3 separate regions of the Homo sapiens genome follow, and regions 1 and 2 are each linked to region 3. Evidence: promoter capture Hi-C in 16 types of primary human blood cells and fetal thymus (Javierre and others, 2016). All regions are on one chromosome and are shown on one strand. The core of a region is centred on a gene start or on the middle of the fragment in contact, and the rest is flanking DNA. Distances in the headings are between cores, read along the strand shown. Region 1 holds the start of LOC105372787 (a long non-coding RNA gene). Region 2 overlaps IFNAR2-IL10RB (IFNAR2-IL10RB readthrough). Region 3 holds the start of IFNAR2 (interferon alpha and beta receptor subunit 2).

Region 1 (3,413 bases), core at 664-3,163, 33 kb before region 3:
TTATCATTGGATGACATACTACATACTTTGAGTAAATGATTTTTTTCATCTTTATTCTCAGCCCTTTGTATTATGTCTGCCACAGAGTGGGCCTTAAAAAATATTTGTGGAACTGCATGAATGAGAGTGACTCCATGGACAAGGATAAAACACTGAAAGTAAAATAAAGGCAGAACTAAGGTAAATGAGTATTGCCATTTCGACTCACCTGATAGATCTGTGTGTTTTAGTCAGTGCAAAACTCACCTGGCGAAGGGAACACCAATGAATAAGATGACGATTAGGTAGGTCCAAGGTGGGGCCCAAGATTCTGTAGCCCTACCACGTTCCCAGGTGATGCCGATGTAGCAAAGAGAGTCCTTGAAGAGAGGCAGGGCACGGTGCTCACGCCTGTAATCCCAGCACTTTGGGAGGCTGAGGCAGGCAGATAGTTTGAAGCCAGAAGTTTGAGACCAGCCTGGGCAACATGGTGAAATCCAGTCTCTACCAAAAAATACAAAAGTTTATCAGGCATTGTAGCATACACCTGTAATCCTAGCTACTCAGGAGGCTGAGGCACGAGAATCACTTGAACCCAGGAGGCGGAGGTTGCAGTGAGCCAAGATCACACCACTGTACTCCAGCCTGGGTGACAGAGCAAGACTCCAACTCAAAAAAGAAAAAAAAAAAAAGAAAGAAAAAGAAAAAGAGAGAGAGAGAGAATCATTGAAGAAAGCTTGGATCCAGGTAAAAATAAAGAGCAGGACACAACCAGAAAAGTCTGTGGTTCTGTTATATCATTGGACAGTGTAATGAAATGTAATGTGTTTTAAAAAATAAAAATTCTATATTCCTAAATCTTGAATAGATTCCTATTTCAGAAACCATCCATTCTGATGAGTCTCCCTTAGCTCTGAAAGAAAGAGGATAAAAACCAAATACAAGAATAATAAAAACCACCTGTCCAAGATGAACTGGAGAAAGGGTGCTAATCTCCCTGCGACAACTCCTACAACTGTATTTGATCAGGATGATAAGAAAAGTTTTAACTCATGCCTCAAGCAGAGCCACAAGACCTGCCTTTTTTGATGACCTTGAATTCTACAACACAGGCTCCAAACCTCACATCTTGTCAACTCTCACCATGAGAAAAGTAGGAAACACTCTCTCACGTTCCCAAGTACTCACCATACCCCCCAAAATAAGTAAAAGCTTACTTTAAAAAATAATTTGTTTTCAGAGCAGAAATCTTCTAAAAGTTGAATTCTGATTCCGTACACACCTGCGGAGAGGTACTTGCCATGCCCACTGTCTAATATGCTTCTCTTTCTATGAACTAGGGTAGGGGTTACAAATAGCTGCCATAGAGTTACTGTCATTATCAGCCTGCAATCTGTGAGCAGCTGTTAAAAACCCACATTTTGTCTCAATTGTAATCATTCAAACAAATAATGCTTACCTACAGTTCAAAAGAAGTCAGTCTGGAATTAAGTGCTGTTCATACCAATTATGTTTCTTCTTTCAGATGTATGGAAAGGGAAAATAAATTATCCATTAAATTGCAGATATATGTAAAGATGCTTTTTGTAGTAAAAGCCAAAACAACTTGAATCTGACCTGTGATTAGAAATAACAGACATTTGAAATTCAGTAACTTAATTCATTGACAATATCACCAGGTTAGTTATCAATGATTCATTCAGTTTTCTTTTAAGCATTATTAATTGCTTGATACCATTTAGGATCAGGAAACCCTTAGTGCAGTGAAAATTGTAAAAGTTTATGACCTGGGAGGCCCGTGTCTAGCCATGCCTCTGTCAGGAATCTGTGGTGTGACTTCTGACAAGAGTTTTATCCCTCTGGATCTGTTTCCTTGGCTGGAAAGTGAGGAAATCGATCCAAAGATTACCTCGCAGATTCTCTCCAACTCTGACATTCTATCATTTCACACTCACTTTAAAATAGACTGTCGGCGACCCTACGCCAGTTTTCCTTGAGAAACAGCGCCACCTTCAGGTCATAATAACCATAAGAGAGCTGACCGTGAAGGTGCTTCTCCGGCAGGAGCGATTTGCCCTGATCCACAGAAACCCTTCCCCCGCAGTCCTCTGGGATGCGGTCACACACTTGTGAGTCTGCCGCTGGGTTAAGATCAATGCGTATGGACATGGAGCCAAGCTGAGCTAACTGGCCCACAAGGGACAGATGCATGACCTTGGCCTAATTATCACAGCTCCAGCTAACAGTTCGCCCACAGCAAAGCTCCTTGTGGAACCCTATAAAGAAGGAAAGGAAGCGAGGGATATGCTGGATGAACTAAACTCTACAAAACAATGAAAATGGACACACCTCTTCTTCAGGCAATTCCACTTAAGATAGTTTCCAGCTGTTCTTATTTTAGCAAGATATCTACTTGGATATACTTTCATTAAGAAAAATGACATAGTGAACTCTGAAGTAAATATCAGATTTTTTTCACCCAGCAAATATTTATTGAGCAACCAACCACTTGAATGCCAGCACCGTGCTAAAAGCTCTCACAAAATTACTTTTATTGAATTTCCACAACAGCCCTTGTGAGAGAGGAATTCATATCTTCATTTTTCAACACAAGGAAGTTGAGAATGAGAGAGGCCCAGAAACAGCAGATCTGGCAACAAGCTTGAATATGCAGACACAAACATTCCACACAGTCCTCCTCTGAGGACACGACGCAACTGCTCCTTTTCAAGAGCTTATCACTTGGCACAGTGTGGCACCAACTGCAATCAGCAGTGCAGAGGCAAAGGCCGCTAGGGAACTCAGTTTATTTCTCTGCAGTGTGATCTGTATGCAGAAAATGGCCCTATCTTTGCCAGCCATCCTCTGCCATACCTCCCTAACCCACTGATGGATGCTGGGCAGGATAAGGGGGATAAGTTAATTTGTTCCTAAGTGTCTAAACAAGGATCCTTCTTAGAAACAGTGGATATTTAAGGTTGTCCCTTTGATCACATCCCAACAATCCCTAAATTCCATAGGCTTTCTTGGTTGGGAAAGAGGCAGAGCAACTGCTACCCATGGGAATGCATCATATTTGGAAATATAATGTTTCCTGTGCATTACAGAGGAGAGAAGTGGGAAGCATCGCCCGGTGCTGGAGGTACTCCAGCTACAGGTGGTACCCTCTATATCTTACTCTTTCCCGTACCTACATATGTGTAGTCAACTCCAGTTGATGAGATCAGGTTTTCAATTCTTTGTACCCCCCCACTGCACTTTGCAAAATACTGGCACATAAATTTAAAGTTACTAAATATTTGCTGGTGTGTTAGGAAAAACACATAGTCTGCATGCAGAAAACAGGAATTATACAAACTAGCATGATCAGACATATTTAAGATGTCAGCTGAGTTACTCTAGGGCAGAGCCCAAGGATGAAGCTTGGCTGAGGG
Region 2 (3,204 bases), core at 81-2,580, 46 kb after region 3:
CAGGCTTTGTTGCTCCATTTGTAGAGCACAGGCAGAGTAGATTTGGCATAATTCTTAAGAGCTCTCTGATTTTCAAAATGGTAATCCAGTGTTGGCTTCAACTTAAAGTCACCAGCTACATTAGCCCTTAACAAGAGTCAGCCTGTTCTTTGAAGCTTTGAAGCCAGGCATTGACTTCTCCTCTGTAACTATGAAAGTCCTAGATGACATCTTAATAGAAGGTTGTTTCATCTACATTAAAAATCTGTTGTTTAGAGTATCCACCTTCATCATTTTAGCTAGATTTTAGCTAGATCTTCTGGATAACTTGCTGCAGCTTCTACATGGGCACTTGCTGCTTCACCTTGCACTTTTATATTATGGAGATGGCTTCTGTCCTTAAACCTTATGAACCAACCTCTGCTAACTTCCAACTTTTCTTTTTTTTTTTTTTTTTTTTTGAGATGGAGTCTCGCTCTGTTGCCCAAGCTGGAATACAGTGACACAATCTCGGCTTATTGCAACCTCTGCCTCCCGGGTTCAAGTGATTCTCCTGCCTCAACCTCCTGAGTAGCTGAGATTACAGGTGCATGCCACCATGCCCGGCTAATTTTTTTGTATTTTTAGTAGAGGTGGGGTTTCACCATGTTGGTCAGGCTGGTCTTGAACTCCTGACCTGATGATCCGCCCACCTCAGACTCACAAAGTGCTGGGATTACAGGCGTGAGCCACCACACCCAGCCCCAACTTTTCTTCTGCAGTTTCCTCACCTCTTTAAGCCTTCACAGAATTGGAGTGTTAGGGTCTTGCTGTGGATTAGACTTTGGCTTAAGGGAATGGTGTGGCTGGTTTGATCTTCTATCCAGACCACTGAGACTTTCTGCATATTTTCAATAAGGCTGTTTTACTTTCTTATTATTAATGTGTTCACTGGAGTAGCACTTTAAATTTCCTTCAACAACTTTTCCTTTGCATTCACAACTTGGCTAACTGTTTGGCCCAAGGGGCCTGTTGTGGCCTGCAATATGCCTTCCTCACTAAGCTTAATCCTTTGCAGCTTTTGGAATAGGGATGCCCGAGGAGAAGGAGAGAGGCAGGAGAGTGGACAGTGGGTGGAGAAGTCAGAACACTCACAACATCTATTGATTAATTTCACTGTCTTATATAGGTGTGGTTCATGGTACCCCAAAACAATTACAACAGTAACATCAAAGATCACTGATCACAGATCACCATAACACATATAATCATGATGAAAAGTTTTGAAATATTGCGAGAATTACCAAAATGTGACATAAAGACATGAAGTGAGCATGTGCTGTTGGAAAAATGGCACCAATAGACTTGCTCAATGCAGGGTTGCTGCAGACCTTCGATTTGTAAAATGCAATATCTGTGAAGTACAGTAAAGCAAATCACAATAAAATGAGGTATGTCTACATCTAAATGTATTTAAACATAGAAAAGGTACAGTAAAAATACAGTATCATTATCTTAGGGCATCAACGTTGTATATGTGGTCTGTCATCTACCGAAATGTCATTATGCAGCACATGACTTTATTGAAAATCATTGTAATATCTTTATTTTGGTAAATTTTTGTAAATCAATGTCTCATAAATCACATGCCCCTGTTTTCAAAAATACGTAATCAAGGAAGCAAGCTTTCTTGGTCAAGTATGCTGAATACTCAACCCCTTGGAGAGGCACGTAGTCATTAAGATGTTCAAGTCTCTGAGAAGTTCTGTTTTGAAGACACGTATTTCTATGTTTAACACAGTTTCCACTCCCGCGCCGCCCCCCCCTCCAAATTAAGTACCAGTCAGCCTCAGGGAGACTGAAGCCAGAACTCTCCTGATTGACCTATCTTTTTGATTGTGTAGTTATAGGATATTCCAAGATAAATGCATGAATACTACCTTGACGGAATGTGATTTCTCAAGTCTTTCCAAGTATGGTGACCACACCTTGAGAGTCAGGGCTGAATTTGCAGATGAGCATTCAGACTGGGTAAACATCACCTTCTGTCCTGTGGATGACAGTAAGCCATTTTGTTTTCCCTTTTTTTGTAATGTCATCATCTTGCCTTGTTTTTTTCCACATTGGTTGGTCCATCAACAAGAATTCTTTGAGGGCCCACAAATGGATGGCCTTGCACAAGGAGCTTAAGGAATATAATAAAGAGAGTTGTATCCCTAAAGAATTCATGGGAGAGACAGAAAAAGATAGGCATATCATCAATGCAACAATTAAATATAAATCTAACACCTTCAGTGCCTCAAGGATGTGACTATGTTGGGGCCCGTGCTGTTGAGGAGAAGTTCTGGAAGGATTCTTGTGGTGAATTTTCTGGGAGAAAGTCAGTATGGAATTATGACTTAAACAAAGAAACATAACGTGATAGGCAAAAGAATGAAGGCAGATGTAGAGATGGAAAATATGATGCGGACAGCCGGCTTGCCCAGAGCGAAGGACAGAGGGAGGGATAGGGCTGATGGCAGGTGGGTTGGGTCAGACTGGTTGGTCAGCATCAAAAATTGTTCCCAGGTTAGGTGGAGATTGCAGTGAGCCGAGATCACGCCACTGCACTCCAGCCTGGGCAATAGAGTGAGACTTGGTCTCAAAAAAAAAAAAAATATTGTTCCCAGGTTAGATTTGGAGGGTCATGGTGACCACCAGAGTCCCCTAAATATGAGATGAGCATATTTAGAATATCAGGAATTGAAAACTAATTAAACCATATATTAGCAATTGAGAGAGTAAAGAAGATTAGAGGTTAAAAGAACCTAATTCACAAAATTCACATACAGCCCTTCAAAACTCACATAGAGAAAAGCACTAAAAGAATTGTCTCTGGCTAGGCATGGTGGCTCACGTCTATGATCCCAACACTTTGGGAGGCTGAGGTGGTGGATCACTTGAGCCCAGGAATTTTCTTTTTTTCTTTCTTTCTTTCTTTTTTTTTTTTTTTTTTTTTGAGACAAAGTCTCACTCTGACACCCAGGCTGAAGTGCAGTGGCGCGATCTCAGATCACTGCAAACTGCCTCCAGGGTTCAAATGATTCTCGTGCCTCAGCCTCCTGAGTAGCTGGGACTTCAAGTGCCTGTCACTATGCCCAGCTAAATTTTTTTGTATTTTTAGTAGAGACGGGGTCTCACCATGTTGGCCAGGCTGGTCTTGAACTCCTGACCTTAAGTGATCCACCTGCCTCAGCCTCCCAAAGT
Region 3 (3,339 bases), core at 150-2,649:
ATTCTCTAAAACTGTGGCTGAAAATATTTTCAATGTTGAATGTCTTTTATAAGAAATAGGATCCTAGATAAGTTCCCTTCAGATCGTATGGGGCTGGTGGGAATTCTGCCAAGGGTCACATAAGAGGCAGGACCGTGACATCCTCTTTATGATCACCCTTGTGCCTAGCCTTAAAGGAGTATCAGCAAATGTTGGTTGACTTCATAGATTAAAAGGCTCATTTTTCCCATCTACAAAAAGTATGAAACATCCTCCTCCTCCCTTTCCTAGGAGGCCAGAAAGCTGAACGAGAGATTAAATACTCAGTTAAAACAATTTAGGTGGTTAGTGTATCTTTTCCCTCTCCTTCAAAAAGATATTAACATTTCCATTTTAGTAGCTGTAATGTTTAGAATATACATACATTTTACTTGAAAGCTGCCTCATAGTCTATTTTGGTTTTGGATTTTCTTTTTTTTTTCGTTTTTCTTGAGACAGAGTTTCGCTCTTGTCTCCCAGGCTGGAGTGCAATGGTGCAATCTCAACTCACTGCAACCTCCACCTCCCAGGTTCAAGCAATTCTCCTGCCTCAGGCTCCCAAGTAACTGGGATTACAGGCGCCCGCCACCACGCCCAGCTAATTTTTGTATTTTTAGTACAGACAGGGTTTCACCATGTTGGTCAGGCTGGGTCTTGAAGTCCTGACCTCAGATGGTCCATCTGCCTTGGCCTCCCAAAGTGCTGAGATAACAGGTGTGAGCCACCGCTCCCGGCCTCATAGTCTATTTTAGAAGTTGACAGGCTATAAATAACAAGCAGACAAATTAATGAAGAACATCTGTCTTTCTGCCTATCCCGAAACACGTTGATCAGTGGGGGGTCGAGGGAAGGGTAGGAGTATGGAGAAGAGACCCGCGGAGAAGAGGGGAGAATCTACAACGGATAATGTTGTAGATATTTACAACATTTACTCAATGGTAGGTATTTTTATCCTCGTTTTACTAGTTGGAGAATTATATCATGCAGGTTTATACAATTAACAAGTGGGGGAGCCAGGAGAGAACCCATTCACTCTTTAGTTCATTCATTCATTCAGTCAGTCAACACATCTTTGGGTGTCTTCTAAATGCCAGGCACTATTCTAACCCCTAAGGATACTTCAGTAAACAAAACAGTCCCAAATTCTTCCCCTATGGAGCTTTCTCGGCGAAGGCGGGATTGGTTAGGAGCTGACAATCGGCAGCAGACGATTGTAAATGACCGGACCTTTTTTCTATTCTCCTGCCCAGCCCCCGGCCCGGCCTCCGCCTCCGGCCCTGCTCCAGCCCCGCCAGCGGCCCAGGACCCGCCCCTGGCTCCGGCCCCGCCCCTGGCTCCGCCCCCGCCCCCGCGCCGGCGGCGGCGCGGCGCCCGCGCTTCCGTATCGCTCCTCGTAGGCCGGGGCTCGGCGCGCGCACCCGCACTAAAGACGCTTCTTCCCGGCGGGTAGGAATCCCGCCGGCGAGCCGAACAGTTCCCCGAGCGCAGCCCGCGGACCACCACCCGGCCGCACGGGCCGCTTTTGTCCCCCGCCCGCCGCTTCTGTCCGAGAGGCCGCCCGCGAGGCGCATCCTGACCGCGAGCGTCGGGTCCCAGAGCCGGGCGCGGCTGGGGCCCGAGGCTAGCATCTCTCGGGAGCCGCAAGGCGAGAGCTGCAAAGGTAACGCAGCGTGGCGGGGTCGCGGGAGCGGAGCGCGTGGCCAGCTGACTGGAGGGAAAACGCCGCCTCCCTGCAGCGGTTCCCGGAATCCCCTCCGGTTCCCTCTCGCTCTCCCCGACTCCTCCTCCTCCTCCTGCCCTCCCTCTGCGTCTTGAGTATGCGGCTAGTGCGCCCTTCCTCTCTCCCGGGGCCGCACCTGCGACCCCAGGACCCCTCCCGGGCCCTGTCCTGCGCCCTCCACGCGTCGCCCCTGCTGGGAGTCCGCTTTCGTTGCACCCCTCCGCGTCCCACCCCACCCCACCAAGGATGCCCAGGATACCGGGCATTTGCCACTGCAAGATGTGAGTCGTTGCTAAGTTTGAGGGTCACATTCCTCCAGGTCCACCCCGCCTTGCAAAACCGGCTCACCAGCTGGGTGCTCAGGTTCGGGATCTCCAGCCCGCCCCCTTGAGGTCCCCTGGGATTAGCCCCCCTCGACCTGCGTCAGGGTCACAGACTGCAGCCGGGGCTGGAGCGGCCTACACCCCTCCGGATCCGCTGCGTGGAGGCAGGAGGGGGAAGGGGCGAGGGGACGTGGCCGCGGAGACAGAAGGGTGCACCCTCCCAGGGTCGGAGAGGGGAGATACTGGGAAGATACTCCGCGAATATGGAGAGGCGATCGGCACTTGCATTTCAACCCTGAGCAAATCAATCCGTTACACGCAGTAGCGAGTTGACTCCATCAGCCCGTTTATTTGGTTAGCGATGGTTATATTGACTCTGAGTATTCCCACCTCCTTTCTTTTAACATTTTTTTTTTTATTTCCTTGTTTTGTTTAGCAAGAAGTCTTAGAAACGAATATAGCATGCTTGGGCGTTGATTCAGTGGTGAGAAGTGCCGGAGCTGGCTCAGGGAGAGGTGGAGTTTCCCATGTGTGCTCACTGGCCCAGGGGCTAAGTCCCACTGCTTGCCAAGGTTTCTCAGTATCCTGTCCACCCACCCCCTATCCACCTGTGCAGGCTTGAGGGGGTGAGGGGGTAGCAGATACTCTATCAAAATCTACCCTAAGGAAAATATTCGATAAACACTCCTAGCAATTAGGGCATAGCTGATAAGGCTTGATCTGTTTGTCGCAGAAAATGACTTGAACTTGTAAGTTCTATTGTTCATAAAGTTGTTTTCCACAATTTTAGATAATCAAAAATGTACATGACTCATTTTTCTTACCTATTATTTCCTCTAAAGTTTCTCATGTATTTATTGAAAAGTTAAAGAAAATCTGATTTTGGTTCACATAATTTGACAATGGTGATTTGTCTAAAAGTCATTTCAAAAAGTAGTATGAAAAGGATCATAACCCTAGAGGTACTGTCATAGACGTGAAACATTTATTAAAATATATATTCCATGGCTCACACTTGCACACTCAAAGCCACATTGGACTCATTTTTTCTGCTACCTTTATAAACCTTCAAACTGTTCAAGAGTCAATGGTATGTATCATCTTCCGTTATCAATCATCATGTTTTGTTTTGTTTGGTTTGGTTTGGTTTGGTTTGGTTTTTGACAAAGTCTCGCTCTGTCGCGCAGGCTGGAGTGCAGTGGCACTGTCTTGGCTCACTGCAACCTCCCCCTCCTGGGTTCAAGCGATTCTTCTGCCTCAGCCTCTTGAGTAGCTGAG

Evidence for each region. Contacts are between HindIII fragments. The CHiCAGO score rates a contact against its expected background, and 5 or more counts as called.
Region 1: a contact is called between a fragment that was not itself captured here and the fragment with the promoter of IFNAR2 in region 3, in 1 of 17 cell types (neutrophils). The highest score is 5.1, in neutrophils.
Region 2: a contact is called between a fragment that was not itself captured here and the fragment with the promoter of IFNAR2 in region 3, in 2 of 17 cell types (monocytes and naive CD4 T cells). The highest score is 6.0, in monocytes.

The regions. Positions count from the first base shown.
Region 1 is chr21:33,195,065-33,198,477 of GRCh38, forward strand. LOC105372787 (a long non-coding RNA gene) reads right to left here and starts at 453. Exons shown (of 3, transcript XR_937675.3): 1 at 247-453. The HindIII fragment of the contact is 1,449 bases long and covers 1,190-2,638 here.
Region 2 is chr21:33,274,734-33,277,937 of GRCh38, forward strand. It overlaps IFNAR2-IL10RB (IFNAR2-IL10RB readthrough), which reads left to right. Exons shown (of 13, transcript NM_001414505.1): 9 at 1,863-2,020. IL10RB (interleukin 10 receptor subunit beta) reads left to right here. Exons shown (of 7, transcript NM_000628.5): 3 at 1,863-2,020. Among named protein-coding and RNA genes, the nearest start is that of IL10RB, 10 kb to the left of the region's middle. The HindIII fragment of the contact is 622 bases long and covers 1,020-1,641 here.
Region 3 is chr21:33,228,539-33,231,877 of GRCh38, forward strand. It overlaps IFNAR2 (interferon alpha and beta receptor subunit 2), which reads left to right and starts at 1,400. Exons shown (of 9, transcript NM_001289125.3): 1 at 1,400-1,678. IFNAR2-IL10RB (IFNAR2-IL10RB readthrough) reads left to right here and starts at 1,400. Exons shown (of 13, transcript NM_001414505.1): 1 at 1,400-1,678. RefSeq lists silencers at 1,217-1,676, 1,737-1,796, 1,817-1,866, 3,089-3,278. The HindIII fragment of the contact is 6,332 bases long and covers 1-3,339 here.